Regions from separate parts of the Homo sapiens genome. Here region 2 is linked to region 1. Evidence: promoter capture Hi-C in human tissues and cell types (Jung and others, 2019). All regions are on one chromosome and are shown on one strand. The core of a region is centred on a gene start or on the middle of the fragment in contact, and the rest is flanking DNA. Distances in the headings are between cores, read along the strand shown. Region 1 holds the start of SKIDA1 (SKI/DACH domain containing 1). Region 2 has its middle 100 kb from the start of NEBL.

Region 1 (5,089 bases), core at 1,866-4,365:
AAACGATTCACCTTCTACTATCAACTACATAACAGATAATCATGTAAAGCTATTCTAAATATTCAAAGACAAACAAAAAATGTAAATTGATGGGGGGAACTGTGGGAGGATGAGTGTGGAACGAATGAATAGATTGAAAATACTTGATTTTCAACAGCGATTTTTTTTTCTGTTCAAACCTTTCCATAGTTACGCCTCAAATGATATCTTACATAAGAATTTCTCCCTATATCTCGAAATAACTGAATGATTTCCATGAGGAAATGCAAGTTTAGAAAGAAGACCCGCAAAATGAAAGTGTTAAAATGCAAGCAACTTCTACAGCATTTCAAATGCAAAAATACAACAATCACTACCTTTAACTGACTCTTAAGGGGTCTTTTCAAACAGATGCTATTTATGAGCATCATCTGTTAACTCCTTTCTTGTAATTCAAAACTCTGTCAAATGATGTTTTCATGATGACGTGTAAATATAATATTCCATTAAAGATCAATTCTAATTGGTTTTTTAAAATCTACCTTGGGAAACAGTGCTTCATAACACACAGACTACTAATGAGTATTTTAGAAGGAATTTCCGCAAAGTCTATCATAAACCTAAGTCGAAATTACTCTCTTGCCCTAGTAAGGTTTGGACCACAGGATTGAAATTATTTTTTCTTGGCCTTTCACGCACGATGACTTTGGTCTTGTCGACAAGACTCGCAAGCACTTGTTGGAAATCTTCATTTAAAAAAAAACAACTGTGACGTTGGCCAGAAATATTTCTTCCATATGCCTCACAAAGGAAAACAGACAGAGTTTATTAAGTGGATTGCAATTATTTGTTTCCAAAACGTGGCTTAAAAGCAAATTAAACGTTTTTCCCTTTTGAAATTCCCTATTTTGAAAACGCACTTCACGTTAAAGGAAGCCCGTTTTTGAAAGGGCTAGCTCAGCCTTTCCTTTTAAAACTAGACTTTCTGTGTACAAAGAAGAGCTGAGTAATCAGTAATAAGGATAGCGAAACGTGCTTTTCCGAATTCCTTTGAACCTTTTTTTAAATGGATTTTTGAATCCATACTTTTCAAGATATTTCAAATATTATATAATCTACTGTAACTTTCCGGATCCAGAATAATAACTGCCCACGGGTGTCTCTTATCTATTTATCACTTTATAAACATATCTATGTTGCTTTCCCTTTTTCTCATAACGTGTGCGTTGCAGGCTCGCCCGGCTTCCTTCAATTTCGCAGCACGCTGTAAAGGCTCCTTCCTCCGAGGTCTTCAGCTGGGAACCCCTCGCTGGCTGAGTCTGACCATCAAAACTTGCCGCGCCGGCCCGACCCGACCCGGCCGGAGCTCAGGAGCCCGGGGAGGCGCCGACGGGGGTCGGGTTGGCCCGCGGGGCCCCTCCCTCGGTCAGGACGTGCTCGGCTAACAGCGGTGCTAGGGCAGAACAATGGGGGCGGCCCGGCGGGCGCGAGGAGCCAGGTCCCGCTTCCTCCGGCGCGCCGGCCCCGCGCCCGGCCCCCGCCCCCCGAGGCCTTCCCCGCCTGCCTCTTCGCGCTCGCCAGTCCCGCCGCGCCTTCCTCCAGCTGCCCGGCCCGGCGCACGCCCCGCCGCCCGCACGCCTTCTTCCCCGCCCGGACCTAGCGGGCCCTCCTTCCCCCGATTCCAACCCACTGCGCTTCCTCCCAAGACTCCAGCTTCTTCCCCTCAGCCGCCGCCTTCGCGCCCTTTTCTGAATGTATTTTTACAATTTCCCCCTTCATTTCCAAAAGTGGCTGAGAAGTCTCGCTTCCATCTTAATGTTGATTTGCTATTTCCCTCCGGAAAAGATTTCCTCAGGAAACCCCAAATCTAGAAGGAAATACAGCAAACCCTAGAACGCTTTTAACCCTTAAGACATCTTGTATTAAAAGAAAAAAAAAGCATGTATGTCTTAAAACCGGCCAAAGAACCATCTCCTCGCTCTTTATTTCCTCCTGTAAATGCTATTATTTTAAACTCTCCATTTTAAACTCGTCCTTCGGACGAGAGGGCAGAGAATGTGCCCGGCAGCACGCAGCAAATCAGAGGTTTTATCTTACGCCTCCTGGGACTGGGAAAAAAAGTGGAACGTGGCCGAGGGAGCTTCCAGGGCAGAAAAGCGACACAATTCGCTGGGGACGCCGCTGGGCCAGGCCAGGCGGGGGAGGCGCGGCGGGGGCGTCGAGGGCTCTCGGGCTCCGGGCCGGGGCGCCGCTGCGAGGAGGGGAGGCGGTTTTAAGTCATGGGGGCTGGGAGGGCGGCGGCGGGTCGGGCGTGACGAGACTTTCGGAGGCAGGATGGGGCGGCGGTGGAGTTGCCTGGGCTTTCTCAGCACCCCCCCCAACACACCCAAATAAAAAAAGGAAAGTTAGAAGGAGGCGGAGAGGAGGACAGCCATCCCCATTTCCTCCCCGCGACGCCGCGGAAGGGCTGGGGCCGCTGCGAGCAGAGAGAGGGCGCGGGATGAGGCGGGCCAATCGCAGTCAACAGGTCCAGGCCTCAGTGGGGCAGCTGAGCCGGGAGGCCGGCGCCCCCTCCCCTCGGCTCCCCGTCCCTCCCCTCCCTCGCAGGCCCGGCGCGGTAGGGGAGGCCCGGCCCGGCCCTCCCCGCCCCGCGCGGACTCGCTGCGGCCGACTCCGCCGGGGCAGTCGGGGTGGGGGTGGGGCGGGGGTTCCCCGCCGGAGAATCCTCCCCCGGGGCTGGCGGCGGGGGCGGGGAGCGAGAGCCGGGAATGGAGGATTAGGAAGGACTCCAGCTCGGCACGAGCGCGGCCCGCGCGAGGGATCCTGGGTAAAAAGTGGCCGCGCGGCACCGGAGAGCGCGGAGAGGAGCCGGGGTCAGGGGTCACGGCCCTGGAGCCCCGCGTGCAGAGCCCCCCACGTGAACGCAGCGAGCAGGAGGAACCTTTTTGTTTTCGACCGCGCCAGCATGCTCCCCTATTGACCGAGCTGCTTTTCCTGGGCTGCTGGGGAGAGGAGCTCCATTGCGGAGCTCTTAACCCCACCCCCACCTTCCACCGCCAACACACTTCCCAACTCAACCCTTCCTCTCAACTCTCATCCCAGCCCCCCGTCCTGAGCTTGCAATAACGCAGTAAATTTGCTTTAACAACAAGTGGGGGTGGTTGAATTTACTCCTCCCTCTCCTCTCTCCTCCCCTTCCTCTTGCTGCGGTTCTTGACACTACTACAAACCAGGACTATAAACATAAACATGTGTCACTGTAACAGGGCAGGTAATATACGGATTTTGAGGCGGGGTGGGGTGGAGCGGGGCTTGGTCGCCGCTTGGAGGGCAGTAAAAAGTCGCGTTTCACGTGCTCGACGGCTTTGGGGACTCCCGCACACATCGATCCGTTTATATAATGCCGAAGGCACTTGGTCACTTATTCAGCCACGCAGACCCACAAAGCCAGACTTGCGGATAACCAGCGTACCCCAAAGCAAATGCATTTCAATACGAATCCCTCTCCTTTCCCAGCCAGTGCTGCCATTTCTTCTATTAGCAAACAGTAACGTGATACTTGAATCCCCTTTCCTTTTTAAAAATTCTTTTCCAGATAGCCATGAGATCATTTTTCGACCTAAATAGTACATCTCTCCCATAGCCACTACCTACACATTTTGTGCGCAGAAACCCCTTCAAACAGCAAGAAAGTCTATTTAAATGACTGAGTTCGAAATCTGGTGTGCAAAGGGTATTTCTTGGGCTTTGCCTCCGTGCATTGAGCAACTTCTGCTGCAAGTTGCTGACACTGGCGCGGTGGAGATCCGCCACAGCAAGCCTTTTTTATTATTATTTAGTCTATATCTGCCTCTCAACTTTTTTCTCATTCTTAGTTCAACAAGCCAGCAACCACTACTTAAGGTAGAGTAAAGCGAATCCCTTCCCAAGCTTTTTGGCTTGAAACGGAGGGAGATACAGAAAATGTTCAGATGGGGAAGTGGTTCCCTTTGTTCTTTCATTGTTTCTCTACGAACTGGTGGATACAAGGACAAACACTTACCTTCTCTTCTTTTTGCTCCACAAACCAGACGTTCCCATCAGCCTTAAAATACACAATCCACCTTGAAAGTAACTACGGATGTCGGGAGAGTTTGTATTCCATTCTTTTTCGCTCTCTGCCCTCTTTTAGCGTAGGATTAAGTTGCAGAGCACGTTGCTGCAAGCTGTAGCCCCCCCCCCCCCCCGCCTTAGTGAATCGGTCACGTTTAGGACCCTCTAAGTCCATCCTAATTCTGCCAGTAGAATTGAGGGTATTGGAGCTCTAAACTTTCAAAAGGAAAGGGGCCTGCAACTCTCCAGAAAACTTACAAATACCCCGAAATTTTTTACCATTGTGTTTTTGCACCACATCACCAAATAGTATTTGCCAAGAAATAATAGATATGTCTTTGAGAAAAAAAAATTTTTTTAAGTTTATACTTAGCAATGCGCTGCTTAGACAGATGTAGTAAAAGGCAGGTTTGTATCGGCATTTAACGGAATGAGTGCGTTTTCCATAACGTTTGTTGTGCCATGTGTTTTTTTAAAACACAAACAAAACACTACCCCAACTGAGAAAGGAAATAGAAGTTTGAATTAAAATGTTGTGGAACAACTTTAAAAGAGACGTTTACTTGAAATTTATTAGTGTAAAAATTGGCCTCAGAAGTGAAAAGTAAGCTTTTCAAAGTTAAAAGACTTAATTTTCACCCTATGATTCCATAACAAAAAAGCGAATTTTCTGGTTAATATGTGATACTGTCAGTGTTGAGTGTCCAGTCTTTTGGGTCTTAGTGTCCAAACCTTGCTCAAATCTGATTATGATGTGATTTGCTGATGTCATGAATATGAAATGATACTTGTGTATCCATAAATTCGAACTTGTGATTTTTTTTTTTTTTTTTTTATCTCCCGCTTTTTTGTAGGTTCCCAGTAGCTGCAGCAGTGAAAGACAGTGATTGGCTCCAGTGCTCCCAGAAGGATTTGGGCTGAAGCCAGGGGAACAGAACCAGAAGAGGATTCCCTTTCCAGAGACCATCAGGCTCCTCATGTCTTGTCTCTCCTCTCTCCCCTCGTGGTGGCTCAGGAT
Region 2 (5,089 bases), core at 1,120-3,619, 530 kb after region 1:
CCTGCTGCTTTCTGTGGAGAAGGGAGGATCTATACAAGCTCATGGGGACCTGCATTGGTTTCCTGAGGGAACTGCAGATGATTGGGTGTGCAGGAGCGAATTCCTGACCAGGAAGTCAGGACCCTCCTGTGCTGGCTTTGTCTGCAGGAGACCAGCTCTCCAGCTCTATCTGGGCTTCTTCCCTTTTTCTCTGCCCTTAAATCCCAATGTGGCCCTTCCTGGCCATCCTACCTTTTTTCTCTCCCTTCAATGCACTTGATTTCTCTCCAGTGAATCAGCTTTCTTCCATATCTTAGACTGCAAAAACAGCAGAGCATCCAGAAAGACAAGAGACATCTTACCTGATGTCATCTGCTCCATTGCAGTCTTTTGCTCACTTTGTCATTTTGGGGTGTTGCTTTCTCGTTTTGGGAGCCTTATTTCTGTTTGCAGTAAGTATTTAACCTTCTATCTCAAAATGTTCAGAGTTTCAATTTAAACAAATTCTTACCCACTTGATTTTATTTTTCTACAAATGTTTTGCTCCTTCCTTTGCAAAGGCTGGTCTCCTGCTTGACTCATTTACCTGGGAATGGGTGGCTTCTCTCTCTTTAGAGACCTCTGTTCTTTGCAGAAGGTCAACATTCTGCAACCCTGTGTAGATGGGGAGGGATAAATTTGTTTGGCCAGGAAAAGTCACTTTTGACAGGGGACTAATGGGGGGACCAGAATCCCCCCTACCATAGTGCAGCATGGGACACAATAAACCACCCCATCCAGCTAGCACTCAGGGCCTCTCTGTAGCTATTTCCTGGGGCCATGCTGGGGCCATATGGCCCCTTGAGGGCAGGGCAATAATCTGTTGTGGTAGCTGCAGCTCCCTCTGCCCCCCTCTGGCCCCCCATGCCCCCTCTATACCCCCTCTATTCCCCCTCTATCCCCCTCTGCCCCCTCTCTGCCCCCCTCTGCCTGGCTTTTTCCTTGCCCTAGTGGCCAAAGCTCTTCACTAGATTCACCGAAGATGGTGACACTGCCACGGGCCGCCTTCCAAACTACAATAGTTCGTGGCAGCAGTGAAAGCTTAATTTTTTAAAACCTTCCATCAGAGGAGGAAGTGCTTTGTAGTAAATGACTACATTGCTGGAAATCACTTACTGGCGTCGTCTTGATTATATTCCTTAGTCATTACGGTTTGCATCACATGATCTTTTCTCAAACATCAGCATGGGGAACCAACGATGAAATTGCATTTCTTTGAATTAGAGTATAGATTATTATGGGAGAAGAAAGACATTAAAGGAGCAGCGTTCATGTTTATGTTTGAAGAAATACGACAGGCTTCACAGCCTCCACGGCAGTTAAAGCGGGGGTTGTAAGAGAACATGGAGCCATCAGACCTCATTGCCTTAGATAGGTCCCAGTGAGTGTAGGGAAAATGCTTTGGCTTTTACAACCCTGGGTATATAGATCCTGGATATAGAATCAGTTTGGTTTGTATTTCTTTTTCTTTTTTCTTTTGTGAGGTGAGACAGGGTCTCACTCTGTTGCCCATGCTGGAGTGCATTGATGCAATCACAGCTCACTGCAGCCTCAACCTCCTGGGCTCAAGTGATCTTCCTACCTCAGCCTCCTGAGTAGCTGGGACTACAGGCATGCATCACTATGCCTGGCTAATATTTTTAAATTTTTAGTAGGGATGGGGTCTTGCCATATTGCCCAGACTTGTCTTGAACTCCTGGGGTCAAGCAACCCTCCCACCTTACCCTCCCAAAGTGCTGAGATTACAGGCGTGAGCCACTGCATCCAGCCTGGCTTGTATTTCTTGTGGGGCTGGGAGAATATAGCATCACTGCAGGTCTTCTCACACATAATTGGGCAATCAATAAATGATTGTTGGAATAAACCAGAGTCTTACTCAGAGAGTACGCCTTTCTTCCCTGACAGCCTTTTTTTTTTTTTTTCCCCCCACACACCTCTGGGTTTCTGTACAGTTTTTGTATGGTAAAAGCCAAGGATTTGGAAATTTTTGGTGCCGCAGATAAAAATAAATAATTCAAACATAAGTCTGGGAAAGGGAATGAATTATTGTTTGCTTGGACTTCTTTACTGGCTCTGACTCCAGGCCTTGCCTAACCCTGAACACCCAGCATATCTTCACTTGTTCCAGATGGCGGATCCTGTTTTGTTGGCGGCCCCCAGAACTTGCTGCGGTGTGACCTTCCATCCTTGTCATCTCACAGTCCTCATGATCCGTATATCAGACTGACAGAAGTTAGTCCATAGACAAACAAAGTGATCGAATTAAGGGACTTCATTGGGGCTAGTTGTGAATTCAGATTGTGACTTTTAGGGGGTGTCAGAGTTGACATGTTGCAGAGTGTTCAAAGCAATGCCAGTTGGATTTTTAATGTAATATGCAGATTGGATAGTATTATTGCTGTGTGCATTATTGGAATTTCTATTCTTCCTGGCCATCTGCTTGGTTATATATGTCTTAATTCTGATGTTAAGTATGAGATGTAGACGTAGCATTTTTATGGTTCTACCATTTCCCCTGCCTTCTTTTATCTGCACATTTCTTGAAGCAGCCAGGAGCCATGGTTTCTAAATGCCTATTGTTGAGAGCCCTGGCAAGAGTGGAGACCTTATCTTTGGATTCCCCATAGATTCTAGATGAATGAATGAGTTATTGGAAACAATAACAGACATTATTTACTGGGAGTTAACGATGAGCCAGTTGTTTGCTAAGGCTTTTTGTAGAGTATCTCATTTAATCTTCCCCATACCTTTCTTAGGTTAGCATGATTGTTCTCATTTTGTAGATGAGGGAGCTGTGGCTCAGAGAAGTCATGTAAACTGCCTGAGGCCACACGGCTACTCAGGGTCCTTGCTAATATTTGGCCTCAGGACTTTCCGACTCCAAAGCCTGAGATGTTTCTTATTAGCTATCTCAGCATTGTCATTATTATGACATTTCTGTGATTTCCATACCGTATCGTATCAGTGATATGACATTTTAGGTTTAAAATTCTCCAGGATCTCTTCATTAGGTGAAATTTTTATATTTGGACTTTTAAAAATTGTGATTTCTGATAAATAGCCTTTTATTGTATTTAATTTATTTTTTGGCTCCATTTGATTTTCATCATTCCTGAATGTTTTTAATACTTTTAATTAAGTTATGTAGTAAACTTTTCATTTGGAGGTCAATGATTTTAGCCAGTTTATTATTTTAGCAGCACTCTGTTTTGTTGGCTGTACCCATCTTAACTGGTATTGAATAAATGTCCTCATGTTTTCTGAGCTTACTGATTTTTAAATTCAAATTCTGTATAGGATCCTATCTCAAGCATCTAATGTTTTCAGTTATTGCTATACTACTGATCAGAACATTACCACTGAAGCTATTATAAAACCAATGAAATAATATATTATTCACATTTCAAAAACATTTTAAAAAGTAGATCTGATCATAGAAAGTACCCAATTATATTAGAAATTTGCTTTTCTGTGTAATGATACTTTGTTAGGAACTGGTTGAACACTTTAATCCATAGTGCATTGCAGGGTTGGCTACTAATCCGAATCCTAAATTCTTCAGGAGTTCTGTTTTTTTTTTTTTTTTTTTTTTTTTTTTTTTTTTTTTTTTTTTACTGAGACTGTGCGTTTATTTGGTGTGGTTTGCGGCTGTAGGGATGGGGGTACCTAATGGTGACTGTGGCCACTTCCTTCCCCACCTTGCCCCCCTTGGCAGTGCCATGGGGAGAGATGGAAGTCTAATGCCACTGATGCCTTTTGAGATTCCAGACCTGAGTAACAGGGACTGTTACTGGCTGTGGTCAGAGATTGAGAGGGCAGGGAGCCTGCTGATCCCATTATCTCTGCAACCCCACCATTGTAAATGTTTAAATGAACAAAGGATTGAGTGAGTGAGTGAGTGAGTTCAGGATTAGGATTAAAGAGTTTGGCTATTATTTAAGGGGAAATGACTTTCATACTGATGGACAAACAGTGATAGTAAAGTAAAAACCAAGTAGTGACCAAAGCTTTCTAAAATTATGTTCAGTTACAGTGTAGAAAGATGGATTTTTGAAACTAAATGTTTATGATTATGGATAAATAACCCACATTTTATAGATTATGTATGATGAACTGTTATCCAGTTTGAACATTTATTTTTCAAAATGGCCGAGGCATTGATCAATTGCACACACGTTTCCAAATGTATTCTGGGGTTTAGAGAGAGAAAAAGACCAGAGAAAAAATATTTGCACAAAAACAGTTAGTATTGAGAGTTGGAACTGCTTTTTAGATTTTTAGATTTACCATTAGTCTTGATATTGAGGGATATCAAAAATATCCCTGTAAAACTTTCTGGCTGTTTTTAGGCAGTCCATATGATACTTTTAAGAAGGTAACTTTTGCAGTTTAATAGCTTCACATTACAGTCTAGCCCCCTGAGAACTAGTGGAATGTGAAGGAAAGAGTGAGGGTTTTGGAACAAGTTAAACTTGGGTTTCAATTTGTCTCCGCCACTTAATACTATGTGTCCTCGGACAAGTTACTTAAACTCTCATTTTCTTTATTTTAGAATGGTGATGTTTATCTCTCCCAAAAGGTTATTGTGAGGTTGGTGATAAGGCATCGATCCAGTAGACCTAGGACAATCCTTGGCACTTCCAGGCACCCAGGAAATAACCACAATCACTGTCTTCAGGATACTCTGCATTTTCACTTCGCTGTCTATAAAGTGACATTGATCAGTGTTGAAAATGACAGCTGTTATTCTTACATTTGGGAGTGGGATGGCAATTGCAAGTAAAAAAGCATTCTGGAAATCATATCCCCAAAATTTGTTAGTTTGCCCTACCCCCTGGGGAAAAGGCCTCTCCTAAAACTTCACATGGGAGAACCTTGAAAGCGTATCACATCGTAGTGGCACATTAACCGATTTTGTTTCACTTGCTGTAAGAAGCATCTAGAAGTCTCCAGCCTTCTTTGGTTTATGCTGTGTCTGACCTGAGAACCCCCATTAGTATTGCCTGAGTTAGGAGCCAGAACGCGCTGTTCTCTAAACCTTGCTGGCGAAGATAAGTTGTGTGAAGGAATC

Evidence for each region. The method cuts DNA at HindIII sites, captures the fragments that hold promoters and counts their contacts. A contact is called where the count stands out against the background at its distance.
Region 2: a fragment that was not itself captured here is called in contact with the fragment with the promoter of SKIDA1 in region 1 in 2 of the 25 tissues and cell types used here (dorsolateral prefrontal cortex and mesendoderm cells).

Annotation. Positions count from the first base shown.
Region 1 is chr10:21,523,708-21,528,796 of GRCh38, reverse strand. SKIDA1 (SKI/DACH domain containing 1) reads left to right here and starts at 3,115. Exons shown (of 4, transcript NM_207371.4): 1 at 3,115-3,250; 2 at 4,926-5,089. RefSeq lists silencers at 1,178-1,336, 1,196-1,515, 1,526-1,645, 2,091-2,240, 2,361-2,780 and enhancers at 2,436-3,079, 3,080-3,723. The HindIII fragment of the contact is 2,515 bases long and covers 1,781-4,295 here.
Region 2 is chr10:20,996,014-21,001,102 of GRCh38, reverse strand. It overlaps a transcript of NEBL not described here. Among named protein-coding and RNA genes, the nearest start is that of NEBL, 100 kb to the right of the region's middle. The HindIII fragment of the contact is 5,722 bases long and covers 1-5,089 here.